Regions from separate parts of the Homo sapiens genome. Here all the other regions are linked to region 3. Evidence: promoter capture Hi-C in 16 types of primary human blood cells and fetal thymus (Javierre and others, 2016). All regions are on one chromosome and are shown on one strand. Each heading gives the region's core, a stretch centred on a gene start or on the middle of the fragment in contact. The rest is flanking DNA. Distances are from core to core; before and after follow the strand shown. Region 1 overlaps PTPRQ (protein tyrosine phosphatase receptor type Q). Region 2 overlaps ACSS3 (acyl-CoA synthetase short chain family member 3). Region 3 holds the start of MYF5 (myogenic factor 5). Region 4 has its middle 17 kb from the start of PTPRQ. Region 5 has its middle 39 kb from the start of PTPRQ.

Region 1 (5,400 bases), core at 1,665-4,164, 260 kb after region 3:
CTGTCACCCCTTTCTTTGACTAGGAAAGGGAACTCCCTGACCCCTTGTGCTCCCCAAGTGAGGCAATGCCTCGCCCTGCTTCGGCTCTCTCACGGCGCACTGCACGCACTGACCTGCATCCACTGTCTGGCACTCCCTAGTGAGACGAACGGGTACCTTAGATGAAAATGCGGAAATCACCCGTCTTCTGCATCGCTCATGCTGGGAGCTGTAGACCGGAGCTGTTCCTATTCGGCCATCTTGGCTCCCCCCGAAATCATTTTTTTATTGTATAAAAAGTAAGGAGTATGTAAGAAGAAAATGGTATAATTCAAAGATGGTTATTTAAATGAACAAAAAAACTTCAAACTTATATGAAATGAAAAATAATAGAAGCCAACAGCTATTTTATCAGAAAAAACATGCTTTAGTGAAATTACCCTACCAATAATTTTCAATACCTCAGAAATTAGCAATTACAACCTAATGCCTGATACTATATTATGATATATCTGTCAGCTATATATATTATATATATAATAAATACCTTATGTAATGTGGGACTATATCAATATCCCTTAAATTTTATAAATATATGAAATACATAAATACATGTATTTACATGAATACTGATATAGTACCATAATTAAATATATGAATACCTTACCAAAAATATGTTCTCATAAAATTCAGTAGTAATGATAATATCTAATTATTCTCATTTAATTTTAACACTGGCACCCTAAGGAAGGTACTATTACTGTCTCTATTTTTCAGATGAGGAAACTGCAGTGCAAATGGGATATAAGTAGGTATATATTTTAGCTACTGCTTGTATCTGATAACTAAATGTTGATCACATGCTCGTTCTGCTAGTGCAGGTATTTCTGCTTTTGATGATGGCAATAACAGTGAGAGAAGGGTGTAAATGATTATAAATCATTTAGAACGGCAAAGATGATTACTAAAAATTGCTGACATTATAAAATGATAAAAGCTATATGAGGATCACGGTCAGTGGCTCAAGAATTGTTTTTTGCAAATCTTTCTCCTTTCAAATACTTATTTTGTGCTATAATATAAAAGAGTATAGAAATTCGAAGAAACCCTTGATGGGATGCCTATGGTATATTATTAGGGGAAAAAAGTTACTGAAAGGTAAAGAAGATTAAAATTAAATATCTACATAAATTAAACATTATTCTCTAATCATTTAAATCTTTTTATCTACAAAAAGTGAACCATACCTGATTCTGGTGTTCTGACAATCGTACTATCAATATAACCTGCTTCAGTTGTAGCAGCTGAAACTTCAAAAAGATATGTTGTATAAGGTCTCAAGTGTGTCACTACAAAACTGATAGGCTCTTTCCACACAGAGCTGATCTCATTCTGTGTCAACGTGCTTGATGAATGTGTGGTACGCGATGGAGGTGTAACTCTACCAAGGGTTGGAGAAGGGCTGGCTGTACTCCATAAAAAAGATTCACTATTCTCCTAGTAAATAAAATAAGATCAATAGAGAAATAATGTTGTATCTCTTGGTGAACATAAGAATAAGAACATGTAATTCATTTCTTTTTCTTTTATGCTATACATACACACATAACATGCAAAAGTTATAGACAAATTTGCTAGATTTTAATTGTACCCATTTATGTCTGCAGTTTTAGAAGAGGACATATTTATTGTATTCCTTATACCTTAACCTTTACGAATAGAATTTCAAGTGGCTTAAAATAAAGGTAAAACTACAGCACAATCATCTGTAAGAATTTTTAAGCTTCATGTTAACAGTGCAAGAGCCAAAGAGCTGAAATAATTTTACTCTTGTGTATGTTCAAATGCTGCTTTCTTACTGTTAATGAACTTTTTTTTCTCATAAGTACTAAAAAGTAGTAGTATGCCACTAGCTCACACGTTAGGTGTGTGCGTGTATTAGAACTATATCATAAGTTGAAAAAGAAGATTTTTAGACTTTTATAAAGTATTTACAGCAAAAATAACTGTTTGACTGTGTTTGCATTAATAGTAACACAGAGATTACCAAAATGATTTTAGGAAAAGCATTATTATGCTTATCATATAATTAAAATGACGATGCTTATTCTATAATAAAGCATTACTATTATGAGGTTTATCATCAATGACCAGAGTAACGACAAATTCTTTACCAAAGATATGCACAACAATGACAGTCTACCTCTGCAAATTTAACCTCAACTATTACCCTACATGTACTCTTCCCTCCTGTCATATGGAAGTAAAATATTTTCTCCAATTATATCTTACACTTTTCCACCTCAGGGCTTTATAAAGTATCCTCCACCGGGAATGCCACCATCACAAAATCTCTATCTGTCCTTGCTCCATGGTGTATCACAAATGCTACTCCTTTGATGAAGTCTTTTCAGAATTCCCTAAATGATTTTAATCCCTCACTCTTGAATTCTCAAACCATTCCTGTATTCTACCTGAATGAGGCCAATTGTGTTACATGATACCCTAAGTAATCAAATAATAAAACGTTGTGTATAACATGATACCATAAGTAATCAAATAACTAATAAAACTTTGGTAAAAATATAGTATCTAGATGCTAGAAATATGAAAATTAAATTTATCTAAGATTTTTCAAGACATAGAAAGTGTTCTGTGATACTTACATTGCATTCTGGCAATTTCCCAGTCAAAATGTCCTCTACTCTGATTGAGACATCTTTCACTACTATCCCACTTCTGGCATGCTTGACACTAATCTTGAAGCTGGTAATTTTGCCATTTGGTTGCCGAGGTAAATACCAAATCAGCTTAACTGCTGAAGCGTTGTAGGCCTCAACTGTGAGATTCACCACTTTTCCTGGAGCTGGGGAAGAGAAAGATTGGGAAGGAAAAAACTTTGTTATAAAACTTAGAATTGCATTTATATAATTTCATGGTACATGAAATTAAATATATAATACACTGCATAAAATCTATTTGTGTAAGATTTTTATAAATGTATTTAACTGAACTTTGCCTAAAATAAAAAACTGGAGTTGGGGCAAGTCAACTTTACTTTAGGATAACTGGGCTAATACATGCATTGATGAAACGTTTCAAATAAGTATGAAAAAAATTCAATCAATAGTTGTGAATATACAAACAAGTTGGGATAAATTTCTTATTTCCTTAACTATTTTGGAATATGTAGTTTCATTAGATATGAAAAACATAGCAAACTGAATCAATTATACAACCATTTTCACCAAAAAGCAGATTTCTGGAATGTTTATAAATGTCTAGTGCCTAATATCAAGTGGATACCCTGCAATTGGTTGTAATTATTGTATTTTACATTTTCAAAATCAACTTACTTCAGAATTTCATTATGCTTTTCTATCAATTATTAATTATATAGAGTAATAATAATAATAATCTGAGTTCTATTTGAGTTGGCTTGAAACCAATATGAAGCTAGAATTAGGGGAAATTATTCCCATTAACCTCATGGTAAAGTGTGTAAAACTGATAGAGTAAAACACCAAGATCCTTCAGAATATAAAACAAACATGACAAGTCATTTTTGAAAGAAATCAAAATGAAACAAAACGTCTGAGATAAAAAAAAAATAAGTGATAGTAAAGATGCCTAGTATTAAGATGCCAAATAACTAGAGTTTAGGTTTACATTGTACAAAAGGATGCTAAAATATAATTTATAAGTAATAGCCACATAAATTACATAAGAAAGTTAGATCTTTGGAAGGAGGTCTATATGAATGATATAAGGTAGGAATTAAGGGACTTCAGGACAGCTGCATTCTAATAAAAATAAAATATAATGCAACAATTCTTGGGAATAATGTTGGACAGGATGTCAGCAATGAGTGTGAGATTCAGAATACACTTTGATGATTGTGCTGGTAAGATTTACTGATAGATTAGATGTGTACTGTGAGAGAAAAGAGCCACAGGTGACATCAAGATTTTTCCTCTATGCCCCTGGAAGAATGGAGGTATCTTAAATTGGTTTGGTAATGACTGCATGTTACCCAATAATATAATAACCATTAAAATCCGTGTTTCCAAAAGTCTTATGTTATAACAAGCTTATGACTTCATGTTAAAAAGAAAAGGCAGGATATAAACTTGCATATGTAGCACAAGCTTATTTTCATTAATGTATAGTCATATAGATACATATTAATGGGGGAAATAGACAAGCCAGAAATGCACCAAAATGATAAAAGCATTTTTTATATGATAAGTCTATGGATAATTTTCATTTTTTATTCTTGTTTTTTCAAAGTTTTGTAAGATAACATTTACTGTTCTTATAATCAGAAAGAATAATATATATTTTAAGGAATAAATTAGCTATCCGAAAGAACTCTAAAACTAATTAAGTGGCCATGCTACTGAGAATTATATGTATTTTAGTGTCAGTTTTTATTTATGTTCTTTATTATTTTAAACGACAAACTCATGACTAAGTCAATTTAAAATAAATGACAGGAAAATTACCACTTTCTGCAGTTTGGAAGAGAAATGGATCACTAAACACTCCAATGCCAGCACTGTTTTCAGCAGCAACCTAGAACAGACCAAAAGGATTGTGTTCAAACATTTTACTCCCTGAAAAAAGAGAATCTAAAATTTAAAACAAAACTTTGACTTATCCATAAGATAAATGCCAAAGATACTTTTTTAATACTCTCAAGGAAGAAGGCAAATATGAAGATATCTATACAATCAACAAATAAAGTATTATTGTCAAAATTGTATAGATGAGAAAACTGGCTGAGAGAGGTCAAATACCTTTGCCCAAGGTCACACAGGAATAAATGGTAGAGCAAGAATCCAGTTGCAGTTGGGTTTATTTTGAAAGCTCAGTCTTTCTCTGATATATCCACTACATAAAAGACATTACAATTATTTCTGTAACAAATGCAAGAGACCATGTATATGGTACCTTAATTTAGAGTTCACAATCTAATCAGGCAAACAAATACTCAAAAAACTGTTTTAAAAAAATAAATTAGATAAGTACATTTAATTAATAATTTAAACTAAGAATTCCAGAATTTTAAAGATAAAAAAATTTGATTTGAATAATATCTTCCAATAGACTAGAATAGAAAAAGAAAATGTCATTAATGAGAATAAGACTCAAGCTTTTGCAAATGCCATGACTGGAATCATAACCTTGGCTTAACTGTAGTTCTACCAATTCCCAGATAGTAGCTTTGAGCAATTTACTTAACTGTTGTAAGTAACATTTATCTTGTCTTTAAAATGGGAATAATAATGTATCTATGTTATAGGATTGTGCTGAGGACTAAATGAAATAGCACATGTAAAATACTTAACAGGATTTTTCCTATAACATTACTTACACTGAAGACATCAAATGTATCATGCCAAATACCCTTTGGAATTC
Region 2 (5,038 bases), core at 2,373-4,872, 500 kb before region 3:
TTGTAATGTACCCCTGAATCTATACCAAAAAAATGTAGATAGTCATGTATATTATGAAGTTAATGATGTAATTGCTGAGAGGTGAGAGTACAGGAACTTTATTTACTTATTCATATTTTTTTTGTATGTAAGTTAACTTTATCATCTATACATAACCTGTAAAATGAAAAAAAAGTTATTTAAAAATATGCAAAATTTGTGGTTTTTGAAAATTGCATTTAAATTGGTCGTATTTTATGGGGCTTCTATGTTTAAATTACAACACAGCTGACACAGTTCTTAAGCAACACACAAGTTCTTTCTACAACTTCCTCAGTAGCAGTAACACTGCAATGACCCCATTTTTTCTTAGTATATACACCAGTTTTTGCCCTTTAATATAGTAGTATTGAAATTTTTGCTTACTTTACCACAATATTTCCTAAACACCGAGCCTTCAGTTTTTGCATGTTGTCATCCAAAATCATAACTACAAAGTAAAATATAAATATTTGAATAAAAATTCATAATCTTAAAGCTTAAACATTTTTCTATATTTTTATATTCAACCCAAAAAGCTCTAGCTTAAGAGAGTAATCTTTTAATTCCTGTGAGACCATGAACAAATATAAACTAAAATATCTTACAAAAAAATAAAGAGCACATGTATCTGATTCCTAATAACATCAGAAATTTTCCTTCAGAATATCCCTTAAATGAAGACATCATATTTCAAACGTGGTAATTTCATCTCTATGTCTATGTCCACTAAATATACCCTTGTAATCTATTAGAAGCATTAAAAACATGTTCAGCTTTTTAAAAAGTAAAGGAAATGAAGTTTTCAAACACACCAAAAAATATACGCAACAAAAATAAAATACTTACAAGCACCAAAAACCCCTTATTCTGATTTAAAGCGTAATATCCACTTAGGAGCTTTAAATTTGGTCAATTTAATCTTCCCAAATATTATCTCAATACTTTCTGTGCTGTCCTGATAGAATCCTAAAAGAGTTTAGGAGATTAAAGCTTGTATCCACATTCAGTAACCCTTGGTGCAAACTAAATATGAAGATAAGTCATCATCTTTTAGGCTTTAATAGATTATTTATGTGGCCTCATTCATCCAGGTAATTCTACCTTAAGCAGATATGAGAAAAGAAGGTTGTTGCTCTCAGAAAAAAATTAATTGTTCCCTTCTTTGTGTTCCTGGAGCACTTTGTTTTAAAATTCTGTATTGACAGTTAGTAGAAGTATCTGTATCTAACTAGATTGTGAGTTCACGGAGGCCATGGCTAATTTATCTTTGTTTCCCTAAATCTCAGTACAGTGGCCAAATCACTATATGCCCCAGGCACATTCTGTAACCCGTTCAGTTTCCCTGTCTATGAAATGGGAGAAATCTCTTTCTCATAGTGCTTATGCAAGAAGTATTTTTAAAAATGTATGCAAAGTGACAAGTTTGCATAAGGTACTCAATAAATGTGTTATATTAAATTAATTGTTTTTTAGACAAAAAGGATTTTCTTTTCTTTCCTAAAAGGATCCTGCGTTTTTTTTTATTATTATACTATTTAATATTACATTATGATTTTAATCTCTAAACAATCACAAAACATAAAAATTATCAGTCATAAAGTCACTGATTCCTTGGTTTTAAATGTTTAACCTGTACTGTCTGCAAGCCAGTTGAGAAACTTCTGTACTGAAGTTACATGAGGGAAGAAAGCTTAACTATTTCTTACAACTAGATATAAAAATGGCACTGAAATACTAACAGAGAAATGTGTTTAACGTCTTCCACCATCAGAAACCCCTAAAAATGTCTCAACACAAAACATTTTTTTCTGATAAAAGGAGCAGAGATGACAGACTGTTTAAACAGAGGATTTCACTAAATCTGGGTTCACCTTTCCAGGGCTGGAGAAGTCACTGACTTCACAGAATATCTATTTCCGCCTTGAATAAAAAAAAAATCTGAAGTATCTTTTTATAAATGTATCTGCTAGGTTAAACCAAATGATCCACGTTTTTGTAACTAGCCATTGTCCTAGAAGGGAAATCCAATATTTTTATGTTAGAGAAGCAAAAGTCAAATCTCTGAATTTTGTAGTTTATATGCAAATAAGAAACATATGTTAGGAATCATATTTTGTCTCCCAAAGCTAGGTTTTCTTCATAGGTCTACTAAGCCAAATTGTGTGACCTTAAGCAAATTACAAAACCTCTGTGCCTCATTTTCCTTGTCTGTAAAATGAATGTGTTAGTCTAAATCAAGTCAGTCCTCTGACTTTTCTGAAATATTAGTAGCACTACTAGCTAAGACATATTCTGCCTTTCTACTGGTAGGCACTGTGTTAATGCTTTATTGCATAACATCACAAAACAGAAGCCCTGGAAAGCATATAAAAATGTTACTCTTATTTAGAAATAAGGAAACAGTGTTCAAAAAGTTATGTGACTTGTATAATTTATACACCTAGAGAGAGCCATCCAAGATAAATTGTTTAATAATAATGGTTACTACTGTAAATTTAAAAACAAAAATTGACAGGATATTATAGCTTTTAGTCACATAAAGCCAGCATCAAAGAAATGTTTTCTTTTGGGATCCTCCCCCTTTGTTTTTATTTTTATTTTTATATTTATTTATTTATTTTTTGAGACAGAGTCTTGCTGTGTTGCCTAGGCTGGAGTGGCACGATCTCAGCTCACTGAAACCTCTGCTTCCTGGGTTCAAGCAATTCTCGTGCCTCAGCCTCCCAAGTAGCTGGGGTTAGAGGCGCACACCACCACACCCGGCTAATTTTTGTATATTTAGTAGAGACGAGGTTTCACCATGTTGGCCAGGCTGGTCTCAAACTCCTGACCTCATGTGATCCGTCTGCCTTGGCCTCCCAAAATGCTGGGATTACAGGCATGAGCCACCACTTCCGGCCTGTTTTTATTATTAAACAATAAGGTTTAAAAACTTTGTCCTCAATCCTAAATTAAAATGCAGCATGTGTAATATACAGTAAGAAACTGCAGCTTTTGAAATCAAAGCAAGCAAATTCTGAGGACAATGGTTTGCATTGTCCCCAGGATCTAACCAGCAGTGTTATCTCAAGAAAATTATTTATTCTGTTAACCAGTTGGTTAACTCATCTCTAAAATAGTAATGATAGCTCTGAATTAAATATACTTCAGCATGAAATGAAAAGACATATATAAAGTACTGGGCTCCCAGCAGGTGTTTCCTTCATAGTAATTTCACACCCATATTCCTAACATACCTTATTAATGATATTATTTTTGTGGTTATGACAGTCATTTAGAACATATCCTGGAAATCCACAACATACTTTTGATAGCAAAAATTAAGGCATTCATTTTTAATACAAGGCATTCATTCAACCAGATTCTAATTAAGCCCCTAGTTTGTTTCATGCAACATAATACACACTAGATGCAAGAAAATGCCAAATTTATTAACTTTACGTATTATCAGGGTCATTCCTTACCATTGTATCCTGGGACGCTTTTTCCTGCTTGCCCTGGTGGAGGTGTTTTAGAATTGCCTAATCCAACACATGACGCAGTAATTGGAGATCCAGTCTCTGGAAAAAGAAATGTTATTTATCACTTCATGTTTTAACTTGGAATCATAATGTTTCTTGAGTACATGCACACTCTACCCCACCCTAGTTTGTCATACAATGCAGCTGTGTTAGGAATAGATGAATAGTGCAAATATATTATTTAAAAATTTAAAGCTATCTAGTAACTTATAACATATCCACAGTATTAAAACTTAAGAATTCATAATTAGAAAAATTTATATAGTAGTGTTTCTTCTAAAGAAAAGAAAGGCTGCTCTAGCGTTTGCAATTGTGGATCAGCAGGCGTGTAGAATGGAAAATTATGTGACTTGGACGGTTCCATAACACACACTAAAAGCTAAAATGATCACTAGAAAAGATGCTTTCTCTTGACTCACCTAAAGTTATTTCGTTTATCATTGTTAATTACAGTTGTGTCAAAACATTTTTGTTATTTCTAGCTCATTCTCCGGAATAAGTAACCCAAAGATTTTTGAAATTATTACATTGATGTAAAAGTAATTGCGGTTTCTGCCATTACTTTTAATATATGGATAATATCGTCATTTAGCATTAGGTATATCTCCTAATGCTATCCCTCCCCCCTCCTCCAACCCCACAACAGTCCCCGGTGTGTGATGTTCCCCCTCCTGTGTCCATGTGTTCTCATTGTTTAATTCATGTTGTGCACACGTACCCTAAAATTTAAAGTATAATAATAATAAAAATAAAAAAAGATTACACACAGAAAAAAACATTTTAATAAAATGTCTTTATAAATTAAAAAAATATATAATATATATGGATAATATCATGCTCTAATTTCCTAAGAGCTACACTTGCCTAGAGAACCTGCATTTAAAGCTAAATTTGGCAATAGTTTTTCAAGTTGTTCAGTCTGCTGTTCCTGGATGTTAGAAGCCCCAAAACACAGGGAGGAAGATGACTATACTCTGCTGACTATTTCATCAAAACCACGAACTTTCTCACAACTAGCCTGCAATGATTGACAAAAATGCTAAATTTGTTTTCTGTGTCTCAAGTTGTAACAGCCAGAATATTAGCTATTACCTGATTACCACAAGTTCTGAAAGTGGTTATTTTTAATGGAGGGATGCACTTATTAACATTCATAAAAGCAAGTTTGGAGTTAACACAATCTTTTGAATACAAAATATATATGTACGAAAGGGCAGGAAAATAGTATTTGGTTAGTGAAAAGTTTGGGAATTACTTGCTTAGTATTACACACATAACCTACACATACATATACCCAAGGAATTAACTGCCAAACCCATCATATCTAAAGTAATCCAAAAAAATTAAAGGCATCCATCTTCTAAAGTACTCAGAATGTGTTCCTTCTACCATGGGCTCTACCATAATTTATCACATATTGATATCACTTTAGAATGATGGGAAGAATTTATTACTGCTCTTTACCTTCCAGAGTAGTTCATTTTATTATTCACATT
Region 3 (5,294 bases), core at 1,390-3,889:
CAAAATATATACATTAGGCAGTATTATATTTTTATTTAATACAATATAACTAAAGGATTAAAGAGAAAAGAAATAGTTAAATATATTTAAAATTCCATTTAACTGATTCTCAGCTGTTTTAATGTTTTAAAGAAAAAAATAAAGCTCTAAACACCAGAGACATTTTGATGAGCAATATTTATAATATATATATATGTATATATAAGTTAAGCATTGCAACAAGCTACCCTCAATCAATGGCCCCCTATCAGAAATAGTATTACTGGAACTATGTATTAATATCTAAGCAAAGAATAATAAAGAAGAAGAAAGTATTATTTGCAATGATGACTTTTTAGTTAAATACACTTTCTTATAAAGTGGCAAGGTAATCTTTACAAATTTACAACTGAAAAGAAATCTTTATGTACATGTTGTCTTGGTTTGGGACTTTTTGAAGCCTTCTTCTTCCTGTGTATTAGGCCCTCCTGGAAGAAGTCATATAGACCAGAAAATTAGTTCATAGCACATGATAGATAAGCCTGGAACTAGAAGCCCCTGGAGTTGCAGGCTGTGAATCGGTGCTGGCAACTGGAGAGAGAGAAGCCAGATCCTGGAGAGGCAACCCAGGTTGCTCTGAGGAGGTGATCCGGTCCACTATGTTGGATAAGCAATCCAAGCTGGATAAGGAGTTTTTATCTGTGGCATATACTAAGGATACAAGGAGAAAAGCATTAAAAAATAATTAGCCCAAGATAGACAGATTTGCTTATGTTGCTCCTTAAATTGTAGGTCAGCTCCTCTGACACCCAGAGGTCAGGTGGTCACAGAAAGCCTAACATAGAAATTTGCAACAAATATCTGGCAATTCCTGAGGGGTAGACGTGGGGAGTGGGGAAGCCCCCTGATAATATTTCAAGCAACATTGTGTGTGCATGTGTGTATGCATGTGTGCGTGCGTGTCTGCTAGGGGGATTTGGAGCAGAAGATGTGTTTATTTTGCTTTACCAAAGCCTCCCTATAAGAACCATCACTTCCATTCTCCCTTCCCCAATACTATCAGCAAGAACAGAATCTTATAGGCTGAATTGTTAGGTTGAACTGGTCTTTAAACTCCTGTGAAGTTATCAATTCTTACCATTTGATACATCAGGACAGTAGATGCTGTCAAAAGTACTGCTCTTTCTGGACCAGACAGGACTGTTACATTCGGGCTATAATACAAGACACACAACAAAGTTTGTTTTCAGGTCTTGGCAAAAGATGTTCTGACCAAAGGTGAGGCTGTGCTTGCCCACCAGCTCTGTAACCGAACACTGTCAATCACCTTCACTGCCTTGATTTAGGAAGGGCTAGCCCTCTCCAAATTCCCAGGGCACTGAGGTCAATCTCTGTGCTTGAAGAAGAGGAGAGCAGCAGCAAAGGGAAGAGGGGGTGGAATTCAGCAGCAATGTGCATTGGGTTAACCATGCAAAATGGATTGGAGTAGAAGAAAGCCACACTAATTCAGGGAAAGAACACTTTCCCAGGGCAAAAACACATTAAAACCTGGCAGCCTTGGAGCAAACGCCCTCTAAAAAGAATGCATCAACATCTTTCAGCCAGGCCTCATTGGAGCAGGAACTGGGGCCGTGTGGGTATTTCTTTCCATTTCCTCATTAAGTTAGAAACGGTGCCTTTAGATATTAGCGTAGGGCATGATCCACAGATGGCATATTTTGAAAATAAATTCAGGAATGGAGAAAACATCTGAGTGATCATTCACAGCCACCCATCTTCCATGTCAACACTCGATTACAGTGTACACCTAGAACCTGCTAGAAAGTTAAACTAAAATCTTGTTCAGCAGCGGTTTGGGGAGTCTTTCTAAATGTGGACCCCTCTCTTCTTTTAAAGCAACTCAGCATCTGCCTCCACCCCACTCTCCCCACCACACCAGGTTAAATGAGGTGTAAGGACTTTAGAAAAGATTAGGGTAGCCTAGCAGGTACCAGATCTATTGCTTACCATGCCATCAGAGCAGTTGGAGGTGGGGCTGGTGGGCTCCGAGCAGCTCTGTCCCGGCAGGCTATAGTAGTTCTCCACCTGCTCTCTCAGCAACTCCTGCAGGCTCTCGATGTAGCGGATGGCATTCCTGAGGATCTCCACCTTGGGCAGCCTCTGGTTGGGGTTGGTCGTGGTACACCTCTTGAGGGTTTCGAAAGCCTGGTTGACCTTCTTCAGGCGCCTCCGCTCGCGCATAGTGGCTGCCTTCCGCCGATCCATGGTGGTGGACTTCCTCTTGCAGGCTTTGCAGGCCCACATGAGGCAGTGACCAGCCTGGTGGTGGCCGGTAGGCGCTCGCACGTGCTCGTCCTCATCTGAGCCCTGCAGCTCTGCTTTGTGCGCTCCGAAGGCAGCCACTCGCGGCACAAACTCGTCCCCAAATTCACCCTCGGGGGACGGTATGCAGGAGCCGTCGTAGAAGTACTCAGAAGGTGAGAACTGGCAGCCATCCATCACGTCCATCCTGCTGAGAGGCAGGCGGTGCACCTGGACGGCAGCGAGAGGGATGGGGAGAAACGGGAGCCTGGCGCCTCCGCCGATGGGCAAATCCCGGGCGGAGCTCCCTAGTCTGTCGCTCCGGTAATTAACAAGGGCAGACGCCTGTTGGCCTGGGTAGACAAGCTGGGGTTGGGGTTCTTTATATATTCTTTCGGGAGGGAGGCCGGCCCCAGTGGCCAGGCACTATTAGCATATCCCACCGCAACCCCCGCGGGGGCTGTCTGGACAAACCTCCGCCTTTCCTCTACAGACAATCTGCTGTGTACTGCCCCTTTTGACGCTAATGGTTTTACTGTATTTCTGCTGGGGCGGCAGTGGGTCCCCAACCTGCTCATTTGCACTCTCTAGATAGGCTAAAACAAGGGATCACTTAAGGAGTGTTTCACACAAAAGTGACCAAGGCAGTCCAACTTTTTGCAATTGGACACACATTTTAAAATAGTGGTAATAAATAGAAATCCCTTTCAGCTGGCACCAAGAGCCGACCTGCCCTCCCAATCCTGGGCGTGAGGAATCACCTGATTTGGGGGTGTTTGTTTCTCTTTTTCATGAACTTCAATTATCTCGAAAACTTTTTCCAGCAATTGGATTGAATAACGGTTACTAAAAACTTGAAGTGGCATTTTCAATCTTGGAGTGAATACAGGGTTTGCCTTTCCAAATCTATTTTGTATAGCTTCAGATGAGTAAAGTTTTGCTCAGATTGTCATTTATTCTAGGCTCTACCTTATTGAGAGTAGGGAGGGAGGTTCCTTTTCCCATGACTGGGCTTGCTCTGAGTTCTCCCTGTATGTCTGCTCATCTAAAAGGAGGTGGGGCACAGGAGGGCCAGGTGACCAGGAACATTCCTCCCGTTCTTGCTTCCTTCATTTTCCCCTTCTGTACGTATTTGTTGAGCACCTTCTCCTTTGTGCCAGGCCTTCCCTAGATCCTGAGCAGGCCAAAGACCTGCACTGAAAGTGTCTCTAAGATTTCCAACAGAAGAAGCCCAGTTTTCGACGGCAAACTCCCTTTCCAGGGGTGAGTCTCCTTTCTCCCTCTCTTTCTGCTCCGCCCTGTCATTTCTACAGACTAAACAGCCAAGCTGGGCTTTGGGGTTGCTAATTTTCTGCTTTCAGGCAAACTAACACCGTTACAGATGCGTCCCAGCTGCCGCCACTGCAATCCTTGACTCGTGTAAAATTTCCAACTCCTCAAACCAGGAGTAACTTCACACACTTCAGTGACAAAAGCCTTCCAGAAAAGCAATCACAGCAGGGTCTTTAGAACTTCGATGGATAGAAGGCAAGAGGGGAGGGTTGTCATTTAAGTGGGAATGAATCTATTAATCAGCTTTTACCAATCCTCCTCCAACCTTAATCCACTTTCAGGTTATTTGGGTTGGGGAGGTGCTGTTTATATTTAGGAAAAGCAATTACTTAAGGTCTACACAATTAGTCTTGGGGTTTTGGACTAGGTCTTGTGGCCCCGTTGAAAGAAGCAGGAGTGTTCTCAACTCAATCTAGGGTAACCCAGTTCAATAAATATAGTGGCTCCGAAGTTATTGCGAGGAGGAGGGAGTTTTCCTTCCTATTATTATTATTATTTCTTTCAGTGAATGGTACTTTGTACTTTTTTTTCAGAATTATTTTCTTAAAGCAACACTGGTTCATTGATCCAGCATCTTCAGGGGCCAGAGAAGTAGCAACCTTTTCAGGGTGCGATCTCTCTAAAGTGAAGACCTTGAAAACCAGAGGTGGGAGAGTGACACTGTCAGTCACTAAGGTTTGCTAGCCACACCATTGCTGTCTCCTCTCTTCTGTCCTGTCATCTCTAAGAAAAAGATCTCTCCTGAAAATCAGGTTCCCTCTCACACCAATGGGCTGCTTAATCATCTGACCAGTGGGAAATCCATCTGCACCTTTTTTAGGGCTATTAACAAGTCTATGCCTTTGAAATGAATACGGTATCCAGGGCTACGCCAGATAAAAAGAGGCAAGTTCAAGAAGAACCCAGGTGGAAACTAAGATGCCATCCACGCTGGTGGAAACATTCAAATGCACAGCAAATGCAAAGCACATTGCTACCTCTGAAATACAATAGTGGGTAGATATCCTCCCCCAGGAATTCTCAGCCAAGTCCCACAGTTTCTATTAGCAGCCATATGACCACTTTTTTATTTTTTTGGCTGTGGAGTCCACAAATTAGCTCGGACTTGTGCTTTGGACACAAATAAACTTGGTCTTTAAAGTTTGAGTGAAAGTTAGAGGTTACGCTTCTGCTCATCTTTCAGCTAATTTCTGAAAGCACTTAACGTGATTTGTACTCAAGCCCCTCAGCGCGAAATATTTTTAACTAACAATTATTGAGAATTTTCTATTTGCCCCGCACTGTTCTCAACCCTTTCCTTAGATTAACTTAACAATTAATACTCCAAACCACCCTGTGGGAGCTATTATTGGGCCCATTGTAGAAAGAAAGTAAACTCGAGCTCCAGGGACTAGGTTATTTGCCCCAAGGTCATACAGGATTGGAAACTAGGCATCCTGTCATTATAGTTCCTACTCCTAGAGGTGATTTTGTTTGTTTTCTTCTTCAATTAATTTAGGCTCCGTGCGCTTCCTTAGGGCTCCAGAGCAGAAACTCGCAAAAGCTGGCTACTCAACATCTTTCCCTGGCTCCTGTGCCTGGGAAGACGCCGTCACTCAGGAGCCTCTGTCAGTAAGGGTAGTTCTCAGAGGTTAGAGCTGTCTCTGGTAAGGTGATCTCAAAACAAAGTTACCAGAGTGCCG
Region 4 (5,302 bases), core at 1,607-4,106, 290 kb after region 3:
TCAAATGAATTTCACATTTGTCCATACTAATAAATGTTCCTTATCTTTTGAACTCTCAGAATGCTGGGCAAAACAAAATAGGATATCTGTTTTGTAAAGAAACTTGTATTATCAAATTTATTACCAGAATATTACATGCAAGTATATCACTAAGAGCTAAATTATTCTCCTGAAAAAAATTGAATTTTTCTTCTCCTGAAAAAACAAAACTGATTGAAGTTAATATATGTGAATCTAGTAAAAATTTAAGATATGTGTGTCCTTATGTTCTCTATAATATAGACTTTAATGACCTTACATGCTGCACAGATGCCATTATTTTACATTGTTAGAGAATTTTTAGAGAGTTTGGTGTTCTGAGGACCCTGCAGAGCCAAATGGAATTTACATTGCAATAGTAGAATTGATAATACTTGGTGACTGAAGAAGGTATTCGTTTAAGATTGTTCCCTTTTGAAATTTACATTGATGAATCAACCAGATCTTTAACAAATAGTACTCCTTCCTTTTGGTTTTAGGGAAAGAGAGTTATCTGCTCTTCCCAAGGATAAAGATATTAAGAGGCTTGATCTAACTTCCTCTAGTTCTTTAGAATATAAGCACAATGAGAACAAGAAATTGTTGAAGGAATGAATTTTTTGAATTTGAATGTTGAATTTTTCAAATGAATAAAACTGTTTTTGTTCTCAAAATCATTCAACTAAGTCTATAGGCATACATAATGCCCTCATTCATTAAAAAAAAATTTCCTGTTGCTTATTTCTTCAAATCTTAAATGGTAAGCATGATAATAGAGGCCAACTCCATTTGTTTTGTTTCACTGGATCTGGATTGGCTTTCTATTCCAACCTGGGATAATTACATTCCCTTCTTTGGGAATTTAGGGAGAAATTATCTTTCTTGGTGCCCATTTGTGCTTGGAAGTTGTGTATGGCATTCTTCTACTCACCACATGGATTGCTCAGCAGACAAAGTTGGTCTTCAGAAAAAAAAAATAATAATAAGGCCAATAAGCAGAAAGAAGTAGCCAGACAAAAAGAAAATAATCCCTGGGTTCTCAATGACCTTGAAATAGCTGATTCCAATTCTTTCCAACATCCGGTTCTATTGGTCTTCATAAGGGACTCTTGTATTAATATTTTTTTCTTTATTGCTTAAACTATTTTAGGTTGTTTTATGTTATTTGCAACTAAAGTTACCATCTCCTACCACTGGAAATGTTTATTGCTCCCACAGACTACCACTGGAAATGTTTATTGCTCCCACAGACTACCAAGCAATAATGCTGTACTAGAAGCATTTCCATTTGCAAACCATAAGATGTAGAGCGAGTATAATTTGTCCTCATGCCCACTGCCAGATTACATTATTAACAAAAAGGCAATGAAAATGTACATATTTACCTGATGAATAACAGACACAGTTGGAAAGTGCTATTTAGGCTAAAAGTCTCCACCCAATTAAATCTCTAGGATGGGACTGAAAGAGCATGTGGCACATCACGTGGCTGTGACTACTGGAGTCTTTTTGCCAGCCAGTGCTGTTACAGGAGCATTATCCTCCAGCACCACCACTCCTTTATTCACTTCCTTGGTACTACATATGTACTTGTTTATGTCCACCAAAAAAACCAACTCATCGAAAATCAGATATCAGTTTTACACATATTTAAATACTTTCCATAACAACTATGTACTTTTAAAGAAGTAAATACAAGAAATACTTGGGGGAGAAATCCTACATTAACAAAGTGGCACAATAATTTCTAAAACCATTAATGTAAAATGAAGGACAAAAAAAAAGGAGTGAAATAAAGACCTGGATAAACATCAAGATGGTATGAGAGCAGCAGTGTTCTTTACCTGAAACTTTTCAAACCCTCCTTCTGATAGTTTCCAAGACAAACATATCGTGTTTTCTTCTTGCCCCCAGATTAGCAAATCTGATGGATCTGGATCTAAAGAAATGAAATAAGACACTGGGACATCTTTTAAAAGACATTTCTACCACTAAGTTATCTAGGCTGAACCAATAACCTTGACTTTGAAGAGTACTAGATATGAGACATAAAACCTAGGCTTATCCAGTCAATTTTAGCACTGTGTGACCATGTGCAAGCTATTTACCCCAAGTCTAGGCTCTCTATATCTACAATGAAAAAGAAAAAAGAATTTCTGGAAAGCCTTTTCCAATAATAAAATTATGGATTTTCACATTTATTTTTCTCACAGCAGAATCCAACTTCAAGTTCTTACAATTGGTATTGTTTACTTGTAATTTATATACTGCATAAAGAAAGAAATATATCTCCCCTCCTTAAGTTCACAAATTCCTTTTCTCTGTAACCACTTTACCTGAGATGGTTCTAGAAGCTTATTTTCCAAATTGGTAACATGCCTCTATTTCAAACCTATATTGCAAATTAAACTATTGTATTGCTTTCCTTTGCTAGAAGAAATGTAATATTAACATTTTATTAAAATAATTTCACCTTAAAAATTCAAATTTTGAATGGGATTTTTTTGCCTCTACTTACATTTACTGATTTAAGTTTATTAGAATTCATCTCTGTGGTAGATTTAACCTGAATCACTGACTCATACTCTTTTATATTCTATTTTTCTATAATGCACATTCCCTTACAACTAGAATTAATTTATTATCCCATAATATATTTTAACTCTATTTTGTACATTTATTAATATTCCATCTACTTCCAAATTGACTTGAGGGGACTTGCAAATAAATGAAGGTAACTAAAAAGATAAAAATATCAATAATATACAATAGAAGACAAAAGACAGATTGCAATATGGAAGACATTAAAAAAAGGTTACCAGTCTTGTTTAAGAAAACACAATCAAAAAGGCAACAACATCACGAACTATGGAAAGCATTATTATTAACCCCAGGTTAGAAATAAGGAACTTGCAGTGCAAACAGAAGACGATTTTCACAAAGTCGCAGAGCTAGAATGGGTAGAGTTAGTCTTTCCTATAACACAGTGGCCTTTCCACTGAAGCACAAGGGTTACAAGGTCAGAATTTGATGTCAGAGAAATGTGAATTCAAATTTCTGTCATCTAGTATAAGTGACTGAAATTCTCTAAGGCTCTGTTGTTTCTTCATTTGAAAAACGTGTAAAAAAATGTACATCTTATTATGATTGGTAGAATAAAGGTTGTCATTCATAATGAAGCAATATAAAGCATAGAAAATGCTTAGCAGAGTACCTGATGAAGGCTCTCAATGTGATGCAATCAATGTGATGATGACAATGGTGATGATGATGGTGACAATGAGAACAACAACACCCAAATCTAAGCAGCAACTAAGCTTTCACTGATATATAATAATGAGCTATCTTTTTTAAAAAATTGAAAACTTTTCTCATCTATTTCTGATATTTCTTCTAATGGTCTTTATGAGAGGCAGCAGGGTCATATCAGCTTTAGATACCCGGGATAAAATCTCACCTTCAACAATGAGTTATGAACACCTCTAAGCCTTAACCTACATTTTGAGTAGCCTGCAGAGAGTTGATGCAGTGACTAAAGCACATAATATCACGCTGGAGTATAATCATACCTCAATTTGTTTAGTTTATTTCAAAGAATTGATTTGACCATTGCTGCATTTTAAGTGCTTCCCTTCCTTTGCACTGCAACTTCTGAGATCAAGCCTCTTCTCATAACTAAGAGAACCTTGGTACTTGAGCACACTTTCATAGGACTGGGCCCCACAAGTGAAAGGACTCTGAAATAGCTACACATGTTCAGAGCAAGCATATATGTCAAGTTACGCTAATAAGGTCAGAAGAGGCAAACAGAACCCAAATAATTCAATCAAAAAGACAGTATTTTTAAATAAAAAAGTCTATTTTTTTCATACCCCAAGTTTATTTTCATAAAATGTTAATATAGCCCAAGTACTAGAGAAATATTATTTCATGACAATAATACCTTAGGGTTTTAGAGTACTTTACACTTTCAGGAAGAGTTTCACATTTCACTTTAGTAACAGGTTATTTTACCTAGGCAGGAATAATTATTCTCATTTCCTAGGTGAGAACACAGTTGTTTTGCCTAAGGTCACATAATTAATAAGTGACAGAGGCAGGAATATATCTCAGACATTCTCCCTGTAAATGCAATGCTCCTTCTCTTCCAGCATATCACAAACCACTTCCTAGTCATTCATTTCTAATTAGGCATTGTCCTTAAATACAACCATTTCTCTCTTCTTTTTACCCATGAAAAGTTAATTAAATATAAAATGAACTTACAAGTGCTAACCATGAGGACAGTAGGATGGCTTCTTTTCAGTCCCTTGTTAGTCATAATACTAATTAAAAAGTCAGTCCCTGGAGAAAGGCTATTAAATGTGAATGTCCTACAGGTTAAACAAAAGTGACACATTAAAACATTTAGCTCAGACACATTTGGAGAACTCCATTTTCTCACCTGCAGAAAAATTTTTATATGCTTCATTTTTAAAGTAACTATCATGGAAATAATTTGCTGCACTTAAGCACAAATGGTCAATTAAAAATCATATCTTCTTACACAGAGACATTTTAAGTCAAAAAAGAATATATCATACATATGATAACATTCTGAATTCATTATTATTTATTTTCAGAAATAATTTGTTACAATATGTCAGACTTAGTTATTCTGATCACACTGTAGTCCAGAAATTATCTTGCAAAATTTTCTCATTTCTGTTTATATTTTCCCATTAAGACAGCTTTCTAAAAACATATATAAAACATTAATTTTGTGTTCCATGTAACTTGACATAATTTCTTTTCAATATTTTCATACCTTTTAGTGGAGGGCAGAATTTCTTCTCTCATTAAGCTTTCACTGGATATTGAAATAATATATCCATCCAGAAGACTTCTAGCTGAAGGCCAGCTAACAGTTACTGCATTTGGGTCTCTGCTATGTTTCATAAATTCAGCTGCACTTGGGGCTATATCATTTAAGACAGACAGTAAGATAACATTTTCCATAGCACAAAGCACCTGCCAGCCCTGAACCGCCCTCAGGAATTGACTCTATGCAAACCCTGAGGGTAACCAAGGCACTCCTTTTTCTTAAAATTTAATTTGATTTAATTTAATTTTAAGTTCCAGGATACAGGGGCAGGACGTGCAGGTTTGTTACATAGGTAAACATGTGTCATGGTGGTTTGCTGCACGTATCAACCCATCACCTAAGTATCAAGCCCCACAAGTATTATTTATCCTGATGCTCTCCCTCCCCGACCTCCGTGACAGGCCCCAGTGTGTGTTGTTC
Region 5 (5,011 bases), core at 1,335-3,834, 310 kb after region 3:
CCTAACAGAATGAAGAAATACTATTTCCTCAAAAAGTCTGCTTTATTACATATGTATTGTTGTAGTTTTAAAAATAGGCATATGATCAGTGATAGTATTTCAAGTGATTAGGGCATGAGAGTTGGTCAGACAGATATAAATTCAAGGCCTGGAATGGGCATTGATAAGTTATGTGCCCCAGGATCTCTCTAAGATCTATTTTCCTGTATAAAATGGGAATAATGATAGCACCTACTACAACTATAAGGTGAAAACTAAATGAAGGTTACCTATGCAAGCATCCCAAAAGGAAAGAAAGAGACTATTAATCTTTCATTCATTACGTTCCTGTTGAGTACCAAACCCCAGTTTGAAGCCAGGAATGGAATGCTGAATAAGACACACTCTCCATCCTTGAAGTCCAGTAACAATTTTGCACTTATTCAGCACAGATTTACTTAAAGGAGTAATTACTTTCTGAACCTACCATGGGGATTATGATGTAGCAGGTAACTTTGATGTCAACCTCAAAATATCATGGTTAAGGGTAGCATCTGATGCATGTCCATATGGGCAAGTGAATCTCCCTGTGCCCCAATTTCCTAATATATCATGCTAACAGTAGGAAACAACTGTATGTGTGTGTGTGTGTGTGTGTGTGTATATATATATGTGTGTGTGTGTGTATGTATATATATGTGTGTATATGTGTATATATATACACAAATATATACACACACAACTATATATGTATACATATATAGTTGTGTATATACATATATATATATATATACACACACACACATTAACTGGTCTACTTGCTAAGAAGAGACTGGCATGCTGGGAGAGGGAGTCTGAGATGTCTAAGATGAATTGTGATTTAAGGAATCTTTATTAGAATTTCATTCATTGCCTATTAAAAGATAAAGAAAACTCAATAAAATAATAATTTTTAAAATGCAATTAAGGATTCCTAGAGGTTTTCCCAAGCTTATGCAAAGCTCCACAGGAAAGTTGGCATCAAATTGGTAGGATCTGCCTTAGTTCACTATAGATAAGGATATCTCAAGGAGAACATATTTATCTTTGAGTGCCAGGAAATAAAAGTCAGTGGATCATCAAGAAGAAAACACAGACAGACAGAGATGACTATGTTAGGTCTTGAGTTTCTCTACAAAATGCTGACCAAATGAAGTTTCATGAGACTTTCCAAAGTGTTAGGAATGTTGAAGAAAAATGTTACACACTCCTGATTTCACTAGTGTTAAATAAAATCTCCAGATCTTTCTGTATTGCTTTTAGTAAAATTGAGCTTCACAAGACTGATGTGTGGAGTGAAAAGAAGAAAATGGAAAAACACTTTTCATGTTTTGGGGTTCATATTATTGCACTGTTTGCAGAGATGAGGAATAAAGGAAGTGAAACAGGTTTGATTAGAGGGAGAAGGCAAGTTCAGTCTTGGCAATGTTACAGTGTCTGCAAGAAGTGCCAGAGGGATAATCAGAAGAAAATTAGATATATGTCTGGACTCATAAGAGGAAAGTAGACTAGATAAAGAATTTAGGAATAATTGGTGGTTCAGGTGATAAATTGAGTGAAGAAATGGATGAAATCACTCAAATGAACTTAGAAATGGTCTGGGGAATACCAAAATTAAAGGAAAATTAGGTTTTAAAAAAGATGCCTAAAAATATATTAAACTGGGTATCTATAGAAAGAGAAACTGTATTGAATTAATGAAGGAAGAAATCAATGAATAAAGAATGCATGAATGAATATAGATAATAAAGTTTCATTTATCACAATATATGTATTTCTTTACATTTACTGACCTTCATATCATTAAGACCAGTCCATATTATTATTTGATTGTTTGACCTGAGATACGAAAATACAAAACTTTTTTCCTCTTCATTTTTTATATCCACAAGGTGTGCAGAACTTAAGGATAACTTACAATGTTGCTGGGCTATATTCCATGGCTTACTGTCATTGTTAATTCTATAACAGTTATTTTTTAATGCTGCCCATCCTTGTGAACACGATCCTACCAAAAGAAAAATCCCCTGTTAAAGATGAATTCAGTAATATAACATTTCATAATTATATTTCTTAATATGTATACAAGTTAATTATGAAAACCTCATAGTATTAAGTGTGCACCTTCCCTATACTACTTTCAAACCAATAAAAATATTAAAGCTTTGTTTATTAATCAAGGAGCAAATAAACTACCACCAATTAACATGGTTTTTTAAATAGCTGTAAGAATTAGTTATGCAGAATTATTGTCCAATTATAACTTTATTAAAATAAAAAACGATGTTTTTCTTTCTAAAGAAAACCTTACTTTAGATTGCCTTTCTTTTCCCTTACTTTTGTATTGGTAGCAAACTTTTTATCACATTTCAGGTTTCTTTTTATTTTGGAGTACTAGACACAATGCTTGCTAAAAATTTTGCTCTCAGTCACTTGACTTCAAAAGTGTTTACCTTCCAGAAAAAAAGCAGGAATGGCTGCTTAGCGTTATTCTCCAAGATTATGTACCACAGAAAGACTGGAGAAAATAGCAGCCTGTTCAGAGAAAATATTGCACATCAGTTCATGTTAATATTCTACCAGTGCCTCAACTCAACACAGTAGGAATATGTGAGAAAGTTCTGAAGATCTTTTGTCTTTTTTTTTCCCCACAGGAGAAAGGACGCTTAATTACCTTATTTTATTTTTTCTTCCTATTTGAGTGTTTCTATACTTCACTTGTACAATACATGTGTTGTATCTTTTTTATTATTCCTGTAGGGGATATTAAAATGACACTCTCAGACCGTCACAAAGAGTGTCCTGCCCTCATCAGCTATCTATGATTCTGTCCCCTTCTACCTGTTCCCACCTTGTGGAGGAAAGACATGAAACTAGGAAGACCCTAAAATTGAACACATTCACCTTTCCCCTAAACTTTTCCTAATTGTGGTCAGGTCTGATCATAGATGAGTAACAGAGAAGCTTTAAATAGGATGAAAGATCAGTGTGTTTGTAATATATTGTAATGGATCTTGTAATACCTGAAAATGAGACTGTTTGTTGACTCATTAAAGTAACCTAAAACGCTATGGAATTTGTATGACTCTTTGTCAGAGTAAAGAAAAAGAGAACCCACTTGGGTTTAAAGGAAGTGCTGGGAAGAAAATAAAGTTATTAGGTTGGTTTCTACCATTACTCCGCTAAGTCCAGCTTGTTCAATAATCAGTCAGATACCAGAATGATATAGTCAAAAAAGGAGACTATGCTAATTTGATTACAAGCAGCCTGCAGTGATTAATACTTGGCCAGATCACTTTCTTTTGAAATACAATATAACTGCTACATTATCTACAAAATATATAATAAATATATAATGAATGATGAACCAAATGTCTATATACCTGTTTCAACTTGAACATCCAGTCTCTGAAATATATTTATGAAATCCAAGTGTAACTGTTTAAATTCAAATGTGAAAGCATAAAAAGCTGCAGGTTTTAAATTACCCCACTCATAAACCATAACATTATTTTGCATAATTTGTGAATAATTATTGAAAGATATTGACACTGATATATCTTTGGAAGAGGGCACACTCCAGTTAAAAGAAATACTTGTACTTGTTGCTATTGTTTTAATATTGCTAGTTGAGATTCCACCTAAAAAATCAGGGAGAATAATTAGCACAGATTCAAATAAAATTGAATGAAACACAAAGGATATTGAGTTACATGATTCACCATGATGAGAAAACATTATCTACCCATAAAATATTTTCTAGACTATATGGGAGTTTCTTCTATTCTACATAGAATGAATGAATTAGATTACAGAACCACATTATATTTTTTACATAATCTGGATAACACGTAAAATCTCCACTCTACCTATCCATTCACACTAGTACACATAAAATGCCAAAATTTAAAACTATATTCTTACCTCAGTTTATAATTTTCTTTAAATTCTGAGATTTACATTATGTAAAAAATAATACTATTATAATTTTACAGTACCATTTTATACCTGTTAATCATTGTAAAATTTAAATTATCTGGTAATGAAAGTTTACATAGTTGATCAACATATACATTACTTACGAATTTGAAATGACTTTTCACTTAAAATTTGTCCATATCTCATGGACTGTAAAATGATGTGATAATCTTCATTTTCCTTTAGTGTTATTATTAATTTCTGACATCTTTGTGGGTCTGCGAGAATACTTTTTACATTCTGCAAATAATTATATTCATCTGCTTAAGAAATGTTTATTGAACATTATCTCTAAGCCAGGCACATTAATTAAAAATTTGACTTTTGTATATCTCCTTCATAAAAGTAGTTTTTCAATGTGGAATATAAATATATATATGAAATGTTTATTTCTACATAAAAGACATTTTTTAAAGAATTATTCTCCTTTGGTATATAAATTCTAAAAAGACAAATAGTCATTCCTATGAAAAAGTTAAATATTATTTGATCATCTACTTATTAAAGATATTTCAAAAAATGCTAACATTTTATATATTAATAAAATAAGAAACCCTGATAACTATTAGGTTCCTATTTACAATGTGGCACTTGGTAACACCAGATTTACACTATGCTTACTTTTTATCAGAACCAAGAAAAGATTCCTTACTCTTTGAGCAAAATCATTAACAAGTTGATATTTTAAAAAATAAAATTCAGGATTTCCTCCCTTAGGAAATTCATCCCATTCAATAAAAACTTCTGTTGTTTGTTTATTCATTGGTATATAATGAAAATGTTTTGAGATCTAAAATGGAAAAGCGAAGAAACTGTAAAAAACAGTAAAAATGCATTCTTGATTGTTATTTTATAAGCAGATTTATTAAAATGACACCTAAAATACATGAAATTATAATTTTTAAACATTTCAGCAGTATCAGTGTCTACACATGAATTACTCTGTCAGTTACTCTATTTATAAATATAATTTTGAAAATGACTTCAGTAAAGCAAGTAAAATAAGAGCATGGAA

The links. Contacts are between HindIII fragments. The CHiCAGO score rates a contact against its expected background, and 5 or more counts as called.
Region 1: a fragment that was not itself captured here is called in contact with the fragment with the promoter of MYF5 in region 3 in 1 of 17 cell types (M2 macrophages); the score reaches 5.1 in M2 macrophages.
Region 2: a contact is called between a fragment that was not itself captured here and the fragment with the promoter of MYF5 in region 3, in 1 of 17 cell types (neutrophils). The highest score is 5.7, in neutrophils.
Region 4: a contact is called between a fragment that was not itself captured here and the fragment with the promoter of MYF5 in region 3, in 1 of 17 cell types (M1 macrophages). The highest score is 5.0, in M1 macrophages.
Region 5: a fragment that was not itself captured here is called in contact with the fragment with the promoter of MYF5 in region 3 in 2 of 17 cell types (M2 macrophages and M1 macrophages); the score reaches 5.9 in M2 macrophages.

What each region holds. Positions count from the first base shown.
Region 1 is chr12:80,456,729-80,462,128 of GRCh38, reverse strand. It overlaps PTPRQ (protein tyrosine phosphatase receptor type Q), which reads right to left. Exons shown (of 45, transcript NM_001145026.2): 4 at 4,485-4,554; 5 at 2,646-2,845; 6 at 1,227-1,476. Among named protein-coding and RNA genes, the nearest start is that of PTPRQ, 15 kb to the right of the region's middle. The HindIII fragment of the contact is 2,307 bases long and covers 1,761-4,067 here.
Region 2 is chr12:81,215,444-81,220,481 of GRCh38, reverse strand. It overlaps ACSS3 (acyl-CoA synthetase short chain family member 3), which reads right to left. Exons shown (of 16, transcript NM_024560.4): 10 at 3,486-3,581; 11 at 406-469. Among named protein-coding and RNA genes, the nearest start is that of MIR4699, 60 kb to the right of the region's middle. The HindIII fragment of the contact is 3,817 bases long and covers 1,714-5,038 here.
Region 3 is chr12:80,714,257-80,719,550 of GRCh38, reverse strand. It overlaps MYF5 (myogenic factor 5), which reads right to left and starts at 2,639. Exons shown (of 3, transcript NM_005593.3): 1 at 1,987-2,639; 2 at 1,118-1,193; 3 at 1-690. The coding sequence starts at 2,487. The coding sequence ends at 500. The HindIII fragment of the contact is 7,979 bases long and covers 1-5,294 here.
Region 4 is chr12:80,424,112-80,429,413 of GRCh38, reverse strand. No RefSeq gene overlaps it. Among named protein-coding and RNA genes, the nearest start is that of PTPRQ, 17 kb to the left of the region's middle. The HindIII fragment of the contact is 963 bases long and covers 2,375-3,337 here.
Region 5 is chr12:80,402,861-80,407,871 of GRCh38, reverse strand. No RefSeq gene overlaps it. Among named protein-coding and RNA genes, the nearest start is that of PTPRQ, 39 kb to the left of the region's middle. The HindIII fragment of the contact is 801 bases long and covers 2,184-2,984 here.